2 separate regions of the Homo sapiens genome follow, and region 1 is linked to region 2. Evidence: promoter capture Hi-C in human tissues and cell types (Jung and others, 2019). All regions are on one chromosome and are shown on one strand. The core of a region is centred on a gene start or on the middle of the fragment in contact, and the rest is flanking DNA. Distances in the headings are between cores, read along the strand shown. Region 1 holds the start of NOL7 (nucleolar protein 7). Region 2 has its middle 4.4 kb from the start of TBC1D7-LOC100130357.

What was found. Contacts are between HindIII fragments. The study calls those that stand out against the background at their distance.
Region 1: a contact is called between the fragment with the promoter of NOL7 here and a fragment that was not itself captured in region 2, in 12 of the 25 tissues and cell types used here (H1 embryonic stem cells, adrenal gland, dorsolateral prefrontal cortex and 9 more).

The regions. Positions count from the first base shown.
Region 1 is chr6:13,613,628-13,617,786 of GRCh38, reverse strand. It overlaps NOL7 (nucleolar protein 7), which reads right to left and starts at 2,452. Exons shown (of 8, transcript NM_016167.5): 1 at 2,163-2,452; 2 at 2,015-2,075; 3 at 1,266-1,324; 4 at 1-17. The coding sequence starts at 2,428. It overlaps SIRT5 (sirtuin 5), which reads right to left. Exons shown (of 10, transcript NM_012241.5): 10 at 2,629-4,159. It overlaps LOC124901263 (a long non-coding RNA gene), which reads left to right and starts at 2,585. Exons shown (of 2, transcript XR_007059461.1): 1 at 2,585-4,159. RefSeq lists an enhancer at 3,070-3,239. The HindIII fragment of the contact is 29,829 bases long and covers 1-4,159 here.
Region 2 is chr6:13,330,622-13,335,245 of GRCh38, reverse strand. No RefSeq gene overlaps it. Among named protein-coding and RNA genes, the nearest start is that of TBC1D7-LOC100130357, 4.4 kb to the right of the region's middle. The HindIII fragment of the contact is 4,242 bases long and covers 881-4,624 here.

The DNA of each region.
Region 1 (4,159 bases), core at 1,203-3,702, 280 kb before region 2:
CTGGCGATTTCTTGATGCTAAGGAAAAAAAACAAAACCACTGACTGCAATGGCAGTAAAGATTACTCAAAACATGTTATATTATTTCATTTGCCTTTACAAGTAAGACACCCCCTTTCATTACCAACACCCTCAATTTCTACTCAGGAGCTCTCATCAGTTTGGAAAGCAATAGTCACTCCCTAGTACACTGCCACCAACTCTCAAGCATTGGAAGATCTTCACAGTTAAAATCTGAGAGCCTATTAGCAGGCTTTCAAAGCAGCAAAATGCTGTGGGCAATGGAGTTCAAGTGAAACACTTGTTCAGAACAAGTTATAAAGTATTTGAAATATGAAGTGAATGGGAGTAGGTCTGCCTCATTTCATTTGGAGAAATCACAAAGGATTAATTTAATAGTTTAGGCACAGGAGACAGGGAACAGCCTCAAGGGGGCTGTGGCCCAATGGAGAGAGAAATGTAAATGGACAGAATACAATACAGAAGCATTTGCACAGGAGAAAGGCCACACAAAAGCGGAAGTGATGGGAGGTGGGGGGGGGCAAATGAGAAGGTAAAGGTGACACTTGAGCTTGGTTTTAAAAGATGAAAGGGAATTTGCCACCAAATAGATTTGCTCTTACGTTTAATGTATTCAGGATCTGAGTAACTCTTTGGTAAAGTTTTTTTACTGAAAACTTGAGAGTCACTGGCCTAAGCAAAAGGGGGCTGAATTTCTGAATTTAAAGCCTTAAGGGGAGAAAAAGAGGATAGAAAAAAAAAAATTTAGAAGGCTAAATTTAGTAGGGTTTGATCAATTCCCAAAGACGACTATAGCTTTTCGCTTTAAACCATAAAACACCAAAGATGCTAAATGAAGTGGGGAACAGGAAGGACAGGTTGGTGGCAGGTAAGGCAAGTATGGGACAAATCAAGTTTTCAGAGCCTGTGGATAAGTGCCTGCTACCCCACTAAATGATTCAAAACACTTTTTATTCACCACCACCCACTATGCCCTAGTACAATGACAGGCAGTCAACAAAATGTACTGAATGAACACAATGGGATCAGGAATTCAAAAGCTAGCTATGGGAATGAACAAAAATAAATGGTAAAATAAGAAGTAGAACGTTACCTCCGTCTTTCCCATCAAATTCATATACCAAGGTAGCTTTTGAATTTGGGTTCTACAATTCCTTCAGTTATATGGATTCAAATAAATGTACCAGTATATAATTCAAAGATGGGTGTATATAAGCAAGTAATATAAAAAGATCCATTACTTACTTAGTCTGTGAAGCTGTGGTTAACTTCTCCAAAATAGTGTCTGGAAGGAGTTTTCTTTTCTTTTGGAATGAAAACGTTTAAAATTAATAGAAAGTCATGTACATAGTATGTCCGGAGTTGCTTCTGAAGTTACCGCTTTTAAGAATGCCCTACATCTAGGCAAAGAAATGAATTAGGCTGGAAACTGCCCCCATACCTCTAAGCTATGGGAAGACCGGGTCCACAAAACTCCACATTCTCTGAAAGACTTGATGAAAACTAGAAAGGGTGCCCACGGTATTCTAACCCTCAGGTCACTGTTATAAATTGAAAGCAGTTAAGTAATGTCTGCCTGGAGCCAGCTCTCTGTGTCGAGTATCAGACAGCAAAGCAACCATACACTAAGTCTGTACAGCCCTTACAGTTTACAAATCACCTCATTTAATTCTCACAGCAACCTCTTATTTTCAGTTGGTGGACACTAAAGGAGACGAACTTTTTTTTTTTGAGACAGGGTCTCGCTCTGTCGCCCAGGCTGGAGCGCAGTGGTGTGATCTCGGCTCCAGGCAGCCTCGACATCCCGGGCTCCGCCCACCTCGTCCAACTAAAGTACTGCCGCGCCCGGCCCGAGCATCTTTCCACCACTGTCAGAGGCAATCTTGGTGACTGTTTCCCCACTCCAATATCCTGCCAACCCAAATTACATCCACCATAGGAATTCTCCCTGAGCCGAGTTGTTTTAATAAGACACCTCCTCCCTAGCCTCTAACCTTCTGTTCGATGAACAGCTCCTCGCGTCGCTTCCTCTTCTCCTTCAGGAGCGTTTTATCCCTGGGAGGAAGGGTGATAAGTCAGCAAAGGGAAGGACAAGCGGGACGAGAAAGGGCGGTTCTCCCCGCCGGGCAGCGGGCTCCGAACCTGCGCACGGTCTCCCGCACTCGCCGCTCCTCTTCTCTCGCTTCCGCCTGGGCGCTGGCGAAAGTCAGCTCCTCCGGGGCCTCATCGTCAAACTCATCGTCCCCTTCCTCGTCTTCCTCCAGGGGCTCGGCGGCCGCGCCGCTGCTGGGCTGCCCGAGCAACAGCCCGTGCTCCGCCTCCTCCTCCTCCGAGGCCAGCTGGCCCTCGTCCACCATCGCCTCCGCCGACGCCGGGGCGCGAGACGCTCGCGGTCGGAGCTGCACCATGGCCCACGCAGCGCTAGACCGTCTGACCTCTGACCCGGAAGCAGCTACAAGCGGAGCGCAAGCCTACTTTCATCGCCCCCTGCAGGTTCGGAGGTCCTCAGGACGGGTGGGGCGCATGCGCGAAGGGAGGAAGGGCGTGGCCTGTAGGCAGTGGGCGTGTTTCTTTCCACGTGGCCAGCGCAGGCCGCCTTGGAGCCGGATGGACCCCACGGAAAATGCTCTGCCGGCGAAAGCGGCTGGCAATGGGGTTGATTTCAAGGCAGGGAAGAGCCATCGCGCTGCCCTCCTCGGCTGGGATGGCGAGACAGGGCTGGCACGGCTCACGCTGTCCGGTGCTCAGAAAACCGGTAATCGCGGGCCCGAGGCGCTGCTCGCCGCCGTTTTTTGGCCCTGGGTTCCGTCGAGTGGATCCAGCTTGTCAGTCTTTGTGTAGATTTGGCTGCGTTCGCTCCGCACTTCGGAGGAGGTGGCGTTTCATGGGAAGAAATGCGCTCTAGCAGATGGCCGCCGTGGCCAGTCAGCCCTGCTGCCACCGACGAAGACGCGGGCGACAGACCTGGACTCTAAAGAAATCTGCACAGACGTGCCCGGCGCCCTCGGCCTTCCCAGCTCCGCGGCCGCAGCGACGCCGGTTAGGATGTCGGCCCTGTGGGAGGGGCGCCCTTCCTGGTGCCGGGCCCTAACCCACGACCTGGAACAGCAGCTGGCCCGTGGCAAATGCTGAGCATATCTCCTGAAAGAATGGCTTCGCCGGTCCCTAGAGAATGCACCCGAGTTTTGTGGTATATACACATACGTACTTTTTTTCCAAGTATATTTTATTTCTTGGCAAACATGGCCCTTTGTGATCGCTGTGTTTCTCTCCTCCCATCCATTATACAACACTAAGTGATTCATCATTCTTTGAACAAATCAAACTGTTTCACACCTGCCATGCATTTGTACCGACCGTGCTCTTCCCTCTACTGCCGCAGCCCCCCAGGTAGAAGTCCTTTTTATACTTCAAAAATTCCCACCCAGGCAAATTTCAAGCACCTTACCCCTACCCCATCCCACTCTGCCCATCTCTAATTGCGCTGGTCTGAACCCGCACAAATGTCTGTGTAGTTTCTGCACTTCATAACAGCTTATATGACAGTTGCTCCAGCCATTCTGTGAACCCCTGAGGGGAAGGGCCAGGTCTTGCTAGTCATTTTATTTCTAATGTCTATCATCTGGTAGATGTTTAATAAATGCTAAGTTGAATAATTCTATCTTACACATATATTGTATTTTTAATTCTCTTTTCATGTCTTCTGTTTTAGAAGCAATTCTCAATTTAAAAACGACAAAACCAAATAGGAACAAAAATGATAAAACTTGAAAACAACAACAACAAAAAAAGCTGCTGAACCAGAGGTTCAGTATGAGAGGAATTGCAAAGAACAGTTTTGAAATCTCTAGGCCTTAGTCAGATAGAAATTACAAATCAAAAATATAATCAGACTCCCTGAGACACTAACACTAGGAAAATGAATAAAGTTAACTTGGAGCAGCCCAAGAACAAACTTATAAGTGCATGATGGTATTTTATGTGCAAAACTGCTTTATAAGTACTATAAGACTATTACAGGTATTACCAGTGCCCTCAGTGTAAACTCCTTGGCCCACCCATGTAAAGTGTACATCGAGCCCTCAGGGTCCCTGACTGGTTCTCCAGCCGCCCCATAGGCTATGAGCATCCCCGTTCCC
Region 2 (4,624 bases), core at 1,752-4,251:
AAGCCTCTCCCTTTTACAGGTCATGGAAATCCATTGTTCAAAGGCTCTCTCTGCTCTGAGTCATCTCTCCACAGCCCATGCTTGGCCCACGCTCCTTGGGCCTCCTGCAACCCACCCTGCCAGCTCCAAGCCTTATCTCTCATGACCCCAACACAGCTGCCAGGCTGGCTCCCATCATCCACATACACATTGTCATTTCCTGCCTTTGCGTTTTAGTGATTGCTCTTTCTTGTGTTGAAAAGGCACTCTTTTCTATAAAAATTATTCACTGCACAGCTCAAATGCTATTTCCTATATAGTGCCTTCTCTAAACACTCCAGGGAGTACCTTAACTTCTATGACATTTCTTGTGTCTTACCTGGGTTGCGCTTATCAAATGCATTGTTACTTGGGCATATTTCTTCTTAAAATTTTTTCTACTATCATATGACCCAGCAATCCACTACTGGGTATATATCCACAGAAATGGAAACCAGTATGCTGAAGAGCTGTCTGCACTCCTATCTCCATTGCAGCATTAATTACAATAGCCAATGCATGAAACAACTCAAGTGTACAGCAAGAGATTAATGGATAAACATCTACTGTCAGTTGGTGGAGGCACAATCCCAACCACTGTTTAGGAATGAAGTTTTCCTAAGCTCACAGTGTGAGAAATATCCCAATCATGGGTATATTCATGGGTAAAGAAAATGTGGTACATATATGTACAGCCTTTAAAAAGAAGGAAATCCTGCCATTTGCAGTAACATGGATAAACCTGGAGGACTTATTATGTTGAGTGAAATAAGCCAGGCCCAGAAAGAGAAATATTGCATGATCTCATTTATATGTGGAATCTCAAAACATTGAACTAATAGAAGCAGTGAGCAGAATGGAGGTTATTAGGGGCTGGGGTGGGTAGGTGTTAGAGAGATGTTGGTCAAAGGGTAAAAAATTTTAGACAGCAGGAATAAGTTTAAGAGTTCTATTGTCCATAATGGTGACTAAAGTTAATAACAATGTATTGTGTTCCTGAATTTAATGTAATACTTTTAAAAACTTAAATGAAATAGAAACATTTCTTCAGAGACCTAAACTACCAAATCTTTTTTTTTTTTTTTTTTTTTTTGAGATGGAGTTTTGCTCTCGTCGCCCAGGCTGGAGGGCAATGGTGCCATCTCAGCTCACTGCAACCTCCGTCTCCCGGGTTCAAGCAATTCTCCCACCTCAGCCTCCTGAGTAGCTGGGATTACAGGCAACTGCCACCATGCCTGGCTAACTTTTTAAATTTTTAGTATAGACGGGGTTTCACCATGTTGGCCAGGCTGGTCTCGAACTCCTGATCTCAAGTGATCCAACAACCTCGGCCTCCCAAAATGCTAGGATTACAAGCGTGAGCCACCGCGCCCAGCCCTAAACTACCAAATCTTAATAAAGAAGAAACAGATCTCCTGAATAGCCTCTATCTATTGAAGAAATTGCATGTAAAGTTTAAAACCTTCTCACAAAGAAAACTCTAGACCCAGATAGTTTCATTGGTGTATTCTACCAAACATTCAAGGAAGAGACAATACCAATCTATACATACCGTTCCACAATACAGAAGAGAAGGGAATACGGAAACTGTTCACTTTCTACCAGTTCCATCGCCCTCCTTCTCCTCTTGCCTCCACCTCCATGATTGGGAGTTCCTGTGCATGTGTACAGGTACCCCAGACCGCAGGCCCATGCTTCAGGCACAGCCCCTGCAAACAACCACCACACCCCCAGGGCCAAGGGGTGAGCCCACCAGTGGCTTTGAAAATGGGAAGCTTACCTGGTGCTGTTCCATTCTTCCAAAGCTCAACACCCCACAAGAATCCACCTGCTCTCGGTTACACTAAAACACCTGCAAGTACTTGTTTTTTATATTTCGTCCAGATTTGATCATTGTTATCTTTAGAAGAGTGACCTGTTTTTTGCATCACAGAATCTAACTTGGTTGTGAGATGCCCTTGTCACCAGCCTGGTTGTTCTATTCCCAAGATGGCACACAACAGAAATACATATTGCTTCTCAAGGTAAACCCCTCACCTTTGAGAAGTGTGTGTTTTGCTGGCTATTTCTGAGATCTGTAGCTTTGGACCTCTCTCTCGTTCTCTGCCTTTTCCTACACGTGCCCTGCTTGGTTTCCACTGCTTTTGGAAACTTCTCCACCTACTTGACATATTATTTTCTAGTTTCACTGAAAATAGAGTTTGCTTTTCTACCCCGCTGACTGTACCTACTGTTTTGACACTAGAACTATCAAAGATTCATGCAAAAGAGAAGACAGGGCCGAGGTCAGACAAGTATCAGTGGTTAACGGAATCATTATTTGTTAAATGACCCCATACGCACTAGGAAACCTATGGCTGTAGCCAGAGGTTTCTATATACCAGGACAGTATTGGAAGTCTATAATCACATGTACGTAAGACATATGCCACCCGTTTTGACAGGTGAACCAATGTCTCCTCTCTGTAACAGCATATTTCTGGGGTACAGTTATGCATGCTCAGGAAGGGCCATGAAAACACACCACTGTGTTAAGTGATACAGGTATAAGCTTGGGTTTACTAGAGGAAAAACATACAAGCAGAAAGTAGTAGAGTGCATGCCATCCCTGGAATCGAATTATCCCTCAGCTTAGACCAGGCATAGAGGTTTACATGCGCTGTGACCAACATTCCAATAAAGACTGATCTCCATGCCCTTAATATTGTAAATATTTACAGTGATGAGGTGGTTCTGCCTATCTGACTGAGTTAACACAGACCTGCTGAGCCAGTTTTCTGCCAAATTACCACAATGAAGAAGAAATGAGTGTCCAGGACCATCCAGGTTTGTCTCTCTTCAGATGTTTTGGAGATGTGGTTTGACCCATGAACTATCTGAATGTATATGTTCACCAATTATGCTGTGATGGGATTTTTACTACATTCACTTTAATGGCTTCTCAACATGAAGACAGTTGTCCTACAGCCATAACCTCACTCCATCTCCATTTCCTTATCTCTAGAAAACGAGGCGCAAGGATTGAGGCCAGTGGTATGTGACAATTACTATTCTGCCAAAGTAAATTTAGAAGCTGAAAGATAGGATGCCACTTCTGAAGATATGCGGCTGTTTTTATGCCCTGAAGCTTAGCTCTCCGCACCACACTTCATGGGACTCGCTGACCTTTAAGTCCCTTTCAACCTTGAGATTTGATTCTGTAACTAGCAGTACGGTGCATTTTTTAAAAAATAATTTAGCAAAAAAGGCTAACCACTAGAGGGCAGAAATATTACAAGAAAGGAGTGATGCCTGTTACAGTGAAGTACACCTGTGAGTTTTACAAGTCTTATTTCAATTAAATTCCACAAAATTTTATTGCCTGACAACTCCATTCTATAATCTGTGTTATGCTAAGAGTCCAGTGACTAATAATGCTGACAGTTCACAACTCAAATATGCAACTGTAAGAACGAATGGCCACCTGTTCACATTGTGTGATAGCCCTTTTCATTTGTTTAGAAGTCTATATTAAGCACTTACTGTGTGCCAGGCGCTGTTCTATGGACTCAGGATACATCAGCTACCGAAGCAAAGATCCCTAACCTTGTGAAACTGACGTTCTGGTGGGAGGACAGATCCAATAAAAACTAAAATAAATAAGTCAGTAATGTAGTGTGTTAAAAAGTGATCGGTGCTGGCCGGGCGCTGTGGCTCAGGCCTGTAATCCCAGCACTTTGGGAGGCCGAGGCGGGTGGATCACTTGAGGTCAGGAGTTTGAGACCAGCCTGGCCGACATGGTGAAACCCCATCTCTATTAAAAATACAAAAAATTAGCTGGGCGCAGTGGCGGGGGCCTGTAATCCCAGCTACTACAGAGGCTGAGGCAGGAGAATCGCTTGAACCCGGGAGGTGAAGGTTACAGTGAGCCAAGGTCGCACCATTGCACTCCAGCCTGGGCAACAAGAGCAAAACTGTCTCAAAAAAAAAAAAAAAAAAAAAATGGGATCATTGCTGTGAAAGAAGGAAAAGGTAGAACTGCATACAGGGGATTGGGATTCAGGTAAAGTGTTGCAATTTTAGGTAGGGTGGGGAAAGTAGCCTCAGGGAGGGGACATTTGATTGAGACTGAGGTAAGTGAGTGGGCCATGTGGCTAGCAGAGGATAATGTGTTTCAGGCAGAGGGAACATGAGAAGGTCCCAAGGCAGGGGAGTCACTCATAGTAGCTGAGACTGAGGTACAAGGAGGTAGACCATGAGAAGTGTTGTAAGCTGTTGTGAGCACTTCAGTTTTTCCTTTGAGAGAAATGGGGAGCCACTGAAGGATTTTTTGCAGAGGGATATTTTTAGATTCATTCTGGCTGCAGAGTTGACAAAAGTCTCAAAGTGTTATCTCTTAGGGAAGCTTCCACATATTCTGTTATCAGCTCATCAAAAAACAGAATGGAGGGCAGTTGAAGGCACCCATATTGCTGTCACCATTCAGTGAACAGCAGTCTTGAAAATTGATTGTATGAATTGGAGTAATCTTCATACCCAGCTAAATTAGAGTCCAGAGATGAGGGAGAAGAGAAAGCAGTTGGGGCACAAAGTGCCTGCCCAGGAATTATATTGAAAGCCAGCTGCCA